Regions from separate parts of the Homo sapiens genome. Here region 1 is linked to region 2. Evidence: promoter capture Hi-C in 16 types of primary human blood cells and fetal thymus (Javierre and others, 2016). All regions are on one chromosome and are shown on one strand. The core of a region is centred on a gene start or on the middle of the fragment in contact, and the rest is flanking DNA. Distances in the headings are between cores, read along the strand shown.

The links. The method cuts DNA at HindIII sites, captures the fragments that hold promoters and counts their contacts. A CHiCAGO score of 5 or more calls a contact.
Region 1: a contact is called between a fragment that was not itself captured here and the fragment with the promoter of KLLN in region 2, in 1 of 17 cell types (total B cells). The highest score is 5.5, in total B cells.

The regions. Positions count from the first base shown.
Region 1 is chr10:88,516,652-88,521,223 of GRCh38, forward strand. The region is part of intron 4 of RNLS (renalase, FAD dependent amine oxidase); the gene reads right to left. Among named protein-coding and RNA genes, the nearest start is that of RNLS, 64 kb to the right of the region's middle. The HindIII fragment of the contact is 452 bases long and covers 1,926-2,377 here.
Region 2 is chr10:87,862,247-87,866,310 of GRCh38, forward strand. It overlaps KLLN (killin, p53 regulated DNA replication inhibitor), which reads right to left and starts at 1,287. Exons shown (of 1, transcript NM_001126049.2): 1 at 1-1,287. The coding sequence starts at 241. It overlaps MLDHR (mitochondrial lactate dehydrogenase regulator), which reads left to right and starts at 1,313. Exons shown (of 1, transcript NM_001433720.1): 1 at 1,313-1,408. The coding sequence starts at 1,313. The coding sequence ends at 1,408. PTEN (phosphatase and tensin homolog) reads left to right here and starts at 1,379. Exons shown (of 9, transcript NM_000314.8): 1 at 1,379-2,302. The coding sequence starts at 2,224. RefSeq lists enhancers at 14-103, 354-533 and silencers at 1,134-1,443, 1,534-1,673. The HindIII fragment of the contact is 7,182 bases long and covers 1-4,064 here.

The DNA.
Region 1 (4,572 bases), core at 902-3,401, 660 kb after region 2:
CTCTTTACTACAGGGATAGTTTGTTTCAAAAAGATGCTTTTCTTAGAAAATGAAGTTTGACACAAAGGCATACTGGATTGCATTATAAAAAAAGAAAAATTAATTATTGGACACCAAGTCCTTGAGAGTGCTTTTGTAGTCATATGTTTCATCTCTGTTGACAGCTGTATTTTTGTACAGCATTTAAAACCATCTACTGACTTTGACAAACTGTCCATTTCCCTTCAGATATACCGACTTTGACAAACTGTTCATTTTCCTTCAGATTTTGGGAAATTCAATATGTCTATGACAATACACCAACCATTAAGTGAGATCAAGTCATATCTAGTTTTCATTTCAAAATATGATAGAACTGTGTGGAATTATATTCTATCTATATTATGATAGCTATGATCTGGAGGTGACATGGTTAATTTCCCTGGCAGACTATAAAATCACCCAGCTAGGAATGGTGAAAGCTGTTAATCAGAAAGATAACCTTTGAAAGCCTTACTCCTTTCATAATGGTTGCTAGTTAAATATGAACATCTGGGAAACAATTATGAATTCATTGTGCATAAATCTATTGCCCTATGTACAGAACTCCTTTTTATTACAAACAGACTTTACATAATAAGGAAAGAATAAATGTATCAACTTTTCATTTTTTACCACATACTTATTTGATGCACCATTTATTAACAAAATCAACATTGTCCTTGGATGTCCATAACACTGGTTATAAAATAGAGATAATAATATTTGGTTGAGAACATATCTAAAAGGTTTAATGTTTTAGCAATGCTTTGAAATTTTAAATGGTTTGAATGTGCTAATTTTTACAATATTGTCTCAAACGTTTACTTTGATATTTATTTTACATGGTATGTAATATGAACTGAGAAAAATGGCCTTTGTTTTTTACATAAATACATAACGGTTGATAAATTTTAAAAAGTGACTTCCATGAGCCATTTATTCATCTAATATTTTTACTGCCAATTTTAAGATAATCTTTCAACATGGGCACCTATACTATTCAGTTAAAGAAATTTCTTCGAAACTTCTCATAAACACAAATGCCTGAAGGCCTAAATTACTTATAAAAAGTGAAAAGCGAAAGAGACTCATATAATCTTTAACTGAATAAATATTTTTCCACCTAACCAAATCTGACTGCCAACACCAGAAGGTTTGGAGAGAAAATTTTCATACCATTTGAAAAGGAACACTGAATTTTACACAATGGGAAAAAAATAAATAGATTATAGCTCTGGCTAATGGTATTAAAACATTAAGATTCTTTTGTTATAAATCTTAATTTTGTGAAGTATGTAACTAGGACAGGCCCTAATCCCAAATGAAATTTAATTGAAAGTTGTTTTTGGAAACATGGTAAGAGAGATTTCTCTTTTTAGTGTTGCCAAATAGAGCTGACTCTAGATGCTTCTTCATTGTCACTTCAGCCAAGTTAGACCATAATGAGAACTAGTCTTTTTGTCTTTAATCCAACAGCTTAAATAAAATTTAAGCCCTAGATTTTTTATTAAAATACATGAAAAAGGGGCTTTCAGAAAACTTGGCATTAAGGATACACATATTTACCCATAACAGTAAGTAGCATGCATATGTATAATGTAACCCACAGGCAAAATATAGTATGCATCTGTTCATTTATACTTGTGGATAAGGGATTTTTATTCCCTACAGTAAACCTTTCTACATTAACATTGAAGGAAAAAAATTCTGTCAATACATCAATATGAAAAAAAGGATTGCTAAAGAAGAAGGCTAAAATACACTGTAAATTAAGTTAGAAAATCTTGTTAGAGATCCTTACAACATGTCATTTACATTTGTGACATTTAACAAAATTGCAATTGAATAAATATCAGTATAATTGGTTTGCTGTTCATCTCTCCCATTATACTATGAACTGCAAAAGCTTAATCTTGAGTATCTAGCAAGATAGGCACATGATCAAATACAAACAGATGGAAAGCTAAAGTCCAGGGTAAACCTGGGATGCTTAAGCACTTGTTTTGGAAAAAAATCACTGTCTACCTAGAGAGAGGAGAAAAGGAACAGTAAGAAGTAACGTGGATTGTCCACCTACTATGGGTACTACAGGTCAGCTCCTATGGTATAGATGTATCGCTGCTGTTAATACAATAGCTCTAGAGAGAAAGTATCACAGCCTCCATTAGACAGCTGGGAAACTGATAAGAAAGAGATTAAGTGACCCTCCTCATTAGTAAAGTCCAGGACTACATCCCTGTACTCTTTCCATTTGACCCTTGTATATCTCTAAAGAAAGAAAAGATAGTCCTTTAGCTTTTAGTTTCATAAAGGAGAAAACTAATACTTTCTCCATCTTCCACATTAGTGATTCAAAAGCTTGGCTGCTCATTAGAACCATTTGAGAACTGTTTAAAAAGCATCTGAGTCCTACAGCCAGATATCCTGATTCAGAGATCTGGGATCCTCCCAGGCATTTCTGTATTTAAAAATCTCCACAGGTGAACCTAATGTGCATTCAGGCTTGAACTGCTATTCTTTTCTAAGCCTATCAAATATTCTATCCTTATCCTGCCCCAAATTATAAGCATCTTCCTGATTGAAAGGATATTAGAAATGTTTGCACACTTCTAAATTCCAGGCATTGTATAAAAGGGTTTCATATATATATTGCCTCCCACATGTAATCTCATTTATTAGACAGTAGACTAATGCTTACATAGGCATAATTATCATTCCCTTAATCTTATAAAAACAACATATATATATTTATATAATTTCTAAAACATACCTTGTGTCTCTCTTAAAAATGTCAAATATGTTGTTCATTTCAAGATGTCTTTAACAACCAGAAAAAAAAAAGAAACAGAAAAAAGGCTTCCACTAAGCCCAAGAAGCTTAAGGATTCTATTTGTGCTGCTTCCTGACCCTACCTATTAAAATGCAGTATCTCTAATGTCCTACAAAGCCCTTCACAAATATTTATGGATCCCCAAGGGTTATCTTATGTGTGCTCTTGAATAAGCACTGCCAGCTACATAGATATATATCTGATATATATCACATATATATGATATATATCACATATATATGATATATATCATATATAGATGATACCTGACATTTTGTTCTCTTTTCCTGCACTAGGTATCCCCCATATCCATGATGTCTGAAACTCAGTCTCTGAGGTCTTCAATGTTGTCTAAATGTATTTAGCGCTGCCTCCAGCTGACATATCACTAATTTACCACTGTAACTTGCTGGATACTGCTGCCTTTGCCAAACATTGTGCCCATGTCTTATGGATACCACAATCTCCTGTTGCATTCTGGCCAGTGAACCTGAGTCCCCGAAGACCTAAAGTTGCTCTGGGTTCTCTGAAATTCATAATATGTAGAAGTTACTCTGTGTTGCATGAAAAGTGGACAGCTGTCTGGAAGTGCCTCATTCCCTGATTCAGGGATGTAATTTTTCACACAAATACTGAAGAGGTACTGCTCCAAAGGCTCCCAAGACTTTAGTGAGAAGTTCTTTGTTTTTCTCTACAGTTCTTTCCTGCCTATCTCCCTATAAGAGTCACAGGGTATTTTAAGGGGGAATGTCCAGTACATGAATCAAGTGATGGGCACAATGATATTCTCAGAAGTATCACTCGCAACAATTATTAAAGTTTTGTTAATAGTTCAACTTTGTCTACCTTCATCCTCCCTGGGAAGGAGTTCTCTCCCCAGAAATGCTATCTAGTCTCTCTTGTGAATTGTCTTCTGGCAGGTCAGTTTCACCAATCTCATAGACATGCCCAAACGTGTGGGCATTTGGGTGACAGGGCTGGCTTAGGCTCAAGCTAGGGACACCATGATAGCCACATAAATGTGAAACTGTTTCTTGGCATATTAGTTAAGAAAAGAAATTGATGATTGAGGTAGTAAGAGGCAGGTAATCCTATATGTTGCCTCTTATTTGCCATCTTCCACATCTCACACATATGGCACAGATGATCCATATCTCTGAATAAATATTTTATTCAACATATGCATAAAAACCTCCTCCTGGAGGAAAAGTTCTAAATCCAGAATAGAATCATGTCCCCAGAATACTGGCCTATTAAAACAAACTTGGAAGAGTTGTAGGAAGGGGTAAATTATCAGATGCCAAGATCCTATGTAAATACTAGTTTATACTACCTTAACAGTCTTCCTGAAGATTTCACTTTTTTTCCCCTTCTATGAATCTGTTCTTTGCTCTGCCTCCCTCTCTCTCCAACCATCAAAGTCTTGGCTGGGCTTCTCGTTCTTCCTCATGGGATATCATTTCCTGTTCACGGGTGTTGCTGCTTCAGGTCTTTATGAAAAATGTGCTTAAAATTTCTTCCATCCAGTCATCTTATTCCTGAGTCAGTTTCTTCTGGTTCGAATCTTAATCCTGGGTAATCTATTTACCTTGTCCCAACTTTCAAAGATACTGCCTTTTAGGAGTTTCTAAAAATCTCAAGTTTCCATGAAGGTAGAAGCTTCTACCATGATAAAATGTAGGTGATTTCATCAAGTCCTGTAATGTCTACACCTGCATCAC
Region 2 (4,064 bases), core at 37-2,536:
CACTGGGGAGTGGGAATTTGGAAAGTTCCCCAACTAGGGACACACGTGACCTCCTTCGGAAAGTAGTTCCGACTGTGGCCCGTGTATCCTTCCACCTCCTTTTGAACCCTCCTAGGTCTCCTCGCCCCGCCCACTCGCTGGGCTGCAGCTTCCTACCGTTCCGTACTTTCCACTCAACCCGGTAACCCCAAACGTGCACGGTCCGGCCGGGGCGCGCGGAGCCTGGCCCCGGGCGATCCATCCTGCCGGGTTTTCACGGCGGCCAAGGGGGGGCGGGGCTAGGTGGTCTCTGAGAACCGAGCTTGACTCCGACGCCGCGAACCGACCTGGAGCCCGAGGGGAAAGATGCTCGACTCTCTTGGGGGCACCGGAGCGGGCGCAGGAGAGGCCTGCGGGGTGCGTCCCACTCACAGGGATCCTCTTTCAGTTCATTTAGATAGGTGCCCTTTGGGCCCTTGAAATTCAACGGCTATGTGTTCACGTTCAGCACGCTCGGCTGAGAGCTTTCATTTTTAGGGCAAACGAGCCGAGTTACCGGGGAAGCGAGAGGTGGGGCGCTGCAAGGGAGCCGGATGAGGTGATACACGCTGGCGACACAATAGCAGGTTGCTCTTTGTGCTAAGACTGACACCATGAGGACACAGATTTGGGGGAAGGGGGAATCTCTAGGCAAAGGCTGTTACAGTCAAATCTCTGCGAACGATTGTGATCCGACAGCGGTGCAAAAGGAAAGAGCGAATGCAGTCCACGCCGCGGAAATCTAGGGGTAGAGGCAAGGGGGGAGGGTATTCCCCTTGCAGGGACCGTCCCTGCATTTCCCTCTACACTGAGCAGCGTGGTCACCTGGTCCTTTTCACCTGTGCACAGGTAACCTCAGACTCGAGTCAGTGACACTGCTCAACGCACCCATCTCAGCTTTCATCATCAGTCCTCCACCCCCGCCCCACAACAGCCTACCCTGCCTCCGGCTGGGTTTCTGGGCAGAGGCCGAGGCTTAGCTCGTTATCCTCGCCTCGCGTTGCTGCAAAAGCCGCAGCAAGTGCAGCTGCAGGCTGGCGGCTGGGAACCGGCCCGAGCAAGCCCCAGGCAGCTACACTGGGCATGCTCAGTAGAGCCTGCGGCTTGGGGACTCTGCGCTCGCACCCAGAGCTACCGCTCTGCCCCCTCCTACCGCCCCCTGCCCTGCCCTGCCCTCCCCTCGCCCGGCGCGGTCCCGTCCGCCTCTCGCTCGCCTCCCGCCTCCCCTCGGTCTTCCGAGGCGCCCGGGCTCCCGGCGCGGCGGCGGAGGGGGCGGGCAGGCCGGCGGGCGGTGATGTGGCGGGACTCTTTATGCGCTGCGGCAGGATACGCGCTCGGCGCTGGGACGCGACTGCGCTCAGTTCTCTCCTCTCGGAAGCTGCAGCCATGATGGAAGTTTGAGAGTTGAGCCGCTGTGAGGCGAGGCCGGGCTCAGGCGAGGGAGATGAGAGACGGCGGCGGCCGCGGCCCGGAGCCCCTCTCAGCGCCTGTGAGCAGCCGCGGGGGCAGCGCCCTCGGGGAGCCGGCCGGCCTGCGGCGGCGGCAGCGGCGGCGTTTCTCGCCTCCTCTTCGTCTTTTCTAACCGTGCAGCCTCTTCCTCGGCTTCTCCTGAAAGGGAAGGTGGAAGCCGTGGGCTCGGGCGGGAGCCGGCTGAGGCGCGGCGGCGGCGGCGGCACCTCCCGCTCCTGGAGCGGGGGGGAGAAGCGGCGGCGGCGGCGGCCGCGGCGGCTGCAGCTCCAGGGAGGGGGTCTGAGTCGCCTGTCACCATTTCCAGGGCTGGGAACGCCGGAGAGTTGGTCTCTCCCCTTCTACTGCCTCCAACACGGCGGCGGCGGCGGCTGGCACATCCAGGGACCCGGGCCGGTTTTAAACCTCCCGTGCGCCGCCGCCGCACCCCCCGTGGCCCGGGCTCCGGAGGCCGCCGGCGGAGGCAGCCGTTCGGAGGATTATTCGTCTTCTCCCCATTCCGCTGCCGCCGCTGCCAGGCCTCTGGCTGCTGAGGAGAAGCAGGCCCAGTCGCTGCAACCATCCAGCAGCCGCCGCAGCAGCCATTACCCGGCTGCGGTCCAGAGCCAAGCGGCGGCAGAGCGAGGGGCATCAGCTACCGCCAAGTCCAGAGCCATTTCCATCCTGCAGAAGAAGCCCCGCCACCAGCAGCTTCTGCCATCTCTCTCCTCCTTTTTCTTCAGCCACAGGCTCCCAGACATGACAGCCATCATCAAAGAGATCGTTAGCAGAAACAAAAGGAGATATCAAGAGGATGGATTCGACTTAGACTTGACCTGTATCCATTTCTGCGGCTGCTCCTCTTTACCTTTCTGTCACTCTCTTAGAACGTGGGAGTAGACGGATGCGAAAATGTCCGTAGTTTGGGTGACTATAACATTTAACCCTGGTCAGGTTGCTAGGTCATATATTTTGTGTTTCCTTTCTGTGTATTCAACCTAGGGTGTGTTTGGCTAGACGGAACTCTTGCCTGGTTGCAAGTGTCAAGCCACCGATTGCTTTCTTAGGCTATCTATATGGTCTCTTCCTGAGGGCTATTGTCCGTTAATACAGAATACAGTACACTGTTAGTGGATTAGCGAGCTCGGTAATCCGGTCTCCTAAATGAACAAAAAAGTAGACGCTTTTTGAGGTTGAGCATATTTCGATTAAATCTTGGCTTAGGCCCTAGATCAAGGGTTTAGATCAGAATAAAATGAAAATTAGTGTTGCACGTACGCATATTGCATCAGAATCTTGCAGTGATTGTTTTAGTTTCCTGAGTTGCATTGATAGATTCTTTTAAAATATGACTGATTTGCATAACTTTAGAAGCAGAATCATTTTCAGTATATATGGTGCACATTGAGGGCAAAAAGTAGTTTTGTTAATGTTTAAACTTAAGTTACCTACAACTTTGAACTGTATGTAGAAGTTTTGTAGTTTGAAGTCAATAGTGCCATAATATACCTTATAAGGCGTTCTTACTAGATCTTTGTTATATTTACCTTTTTCTCTCCCTATGGGGTGATGTAGGATAGTGCTTGAAATTTGCACTTCAGTAGCATTTAATGTTCAGTGCTCTTGTCATAAACATAGAATGGATATTGAGTAGTTTCTGATCCCAGATGGTAATGTGTAGGTTCAAGGGTATTGTGTGTAGCAAGTGAAGATTGCAGAAATAAAACTTCAGTTCATGCTTGAAATTTAAGTATTGTTGTGATGCCAGAATTGCTGCTCACCGTTTTTAGGTTTCAGGTCCTCTGACACCTTTTGGTATCGTTAATTTTACTGATTTGTGTAGAATGTCAGTTGTATTTTACCAGCTAATATCTAGAAATGCTGGCAAGAGGGGTTTACTCCAGCTTTAGATTGTAGGTATGTTAGCTTTTTTCATACAGTGTATTAAATTTACTGAGTCAGCTTGCTGAATAAGACAGAAGCCCAAGAATTTTAACAGTGTGTAGCTTTAGTTGTCTAAAAGTTAGGCCTTCGGGCTTCAAAAGTTAGTGGTCATCGAAAAGCATTAATCTTTGCAGTTTCAGGTACAACACATTGGTTTTGATTAGGGATGGGGATGGGGCCCTCTTTTTGCAGAATGGGGAAAGTATTGACAGGAATTGAGAGCTATTGGTAGGCCAGTGTATAAGGTATGTGAAAACAGAATTAAGTTATTGGTCTGAAGTGACTGAAGCATTTAGGCTCTATCAAGGCCTAAAATTTGGTAATATGAGTTTGGTAATGCGAATTGTGGCAGTGGACAATATTTAGTTAAAATTATGTAATTGCATAAGTACTAGCACAGTATTTTTAATAAAAGTTATTTCTTAGCAAATGTCAGTTGCATTTTGTCTAAAGGTAGAGTGACACTACAGTGTCTATATGTCCTGCTAAAAATTGTGGGGAATATTTTTTTTTAAGACAGCGTTTATATCGGGAGAGGTTTTATTCCGTTGGATTATGTTAGCTGCATATAAATGTGCACAGTTAATTTTGCCCAAGTTTTTGTTTTGAAATGAATGTAAAACTTACTGAAGAAGTAGCTTCCCAAAATTTAGTTT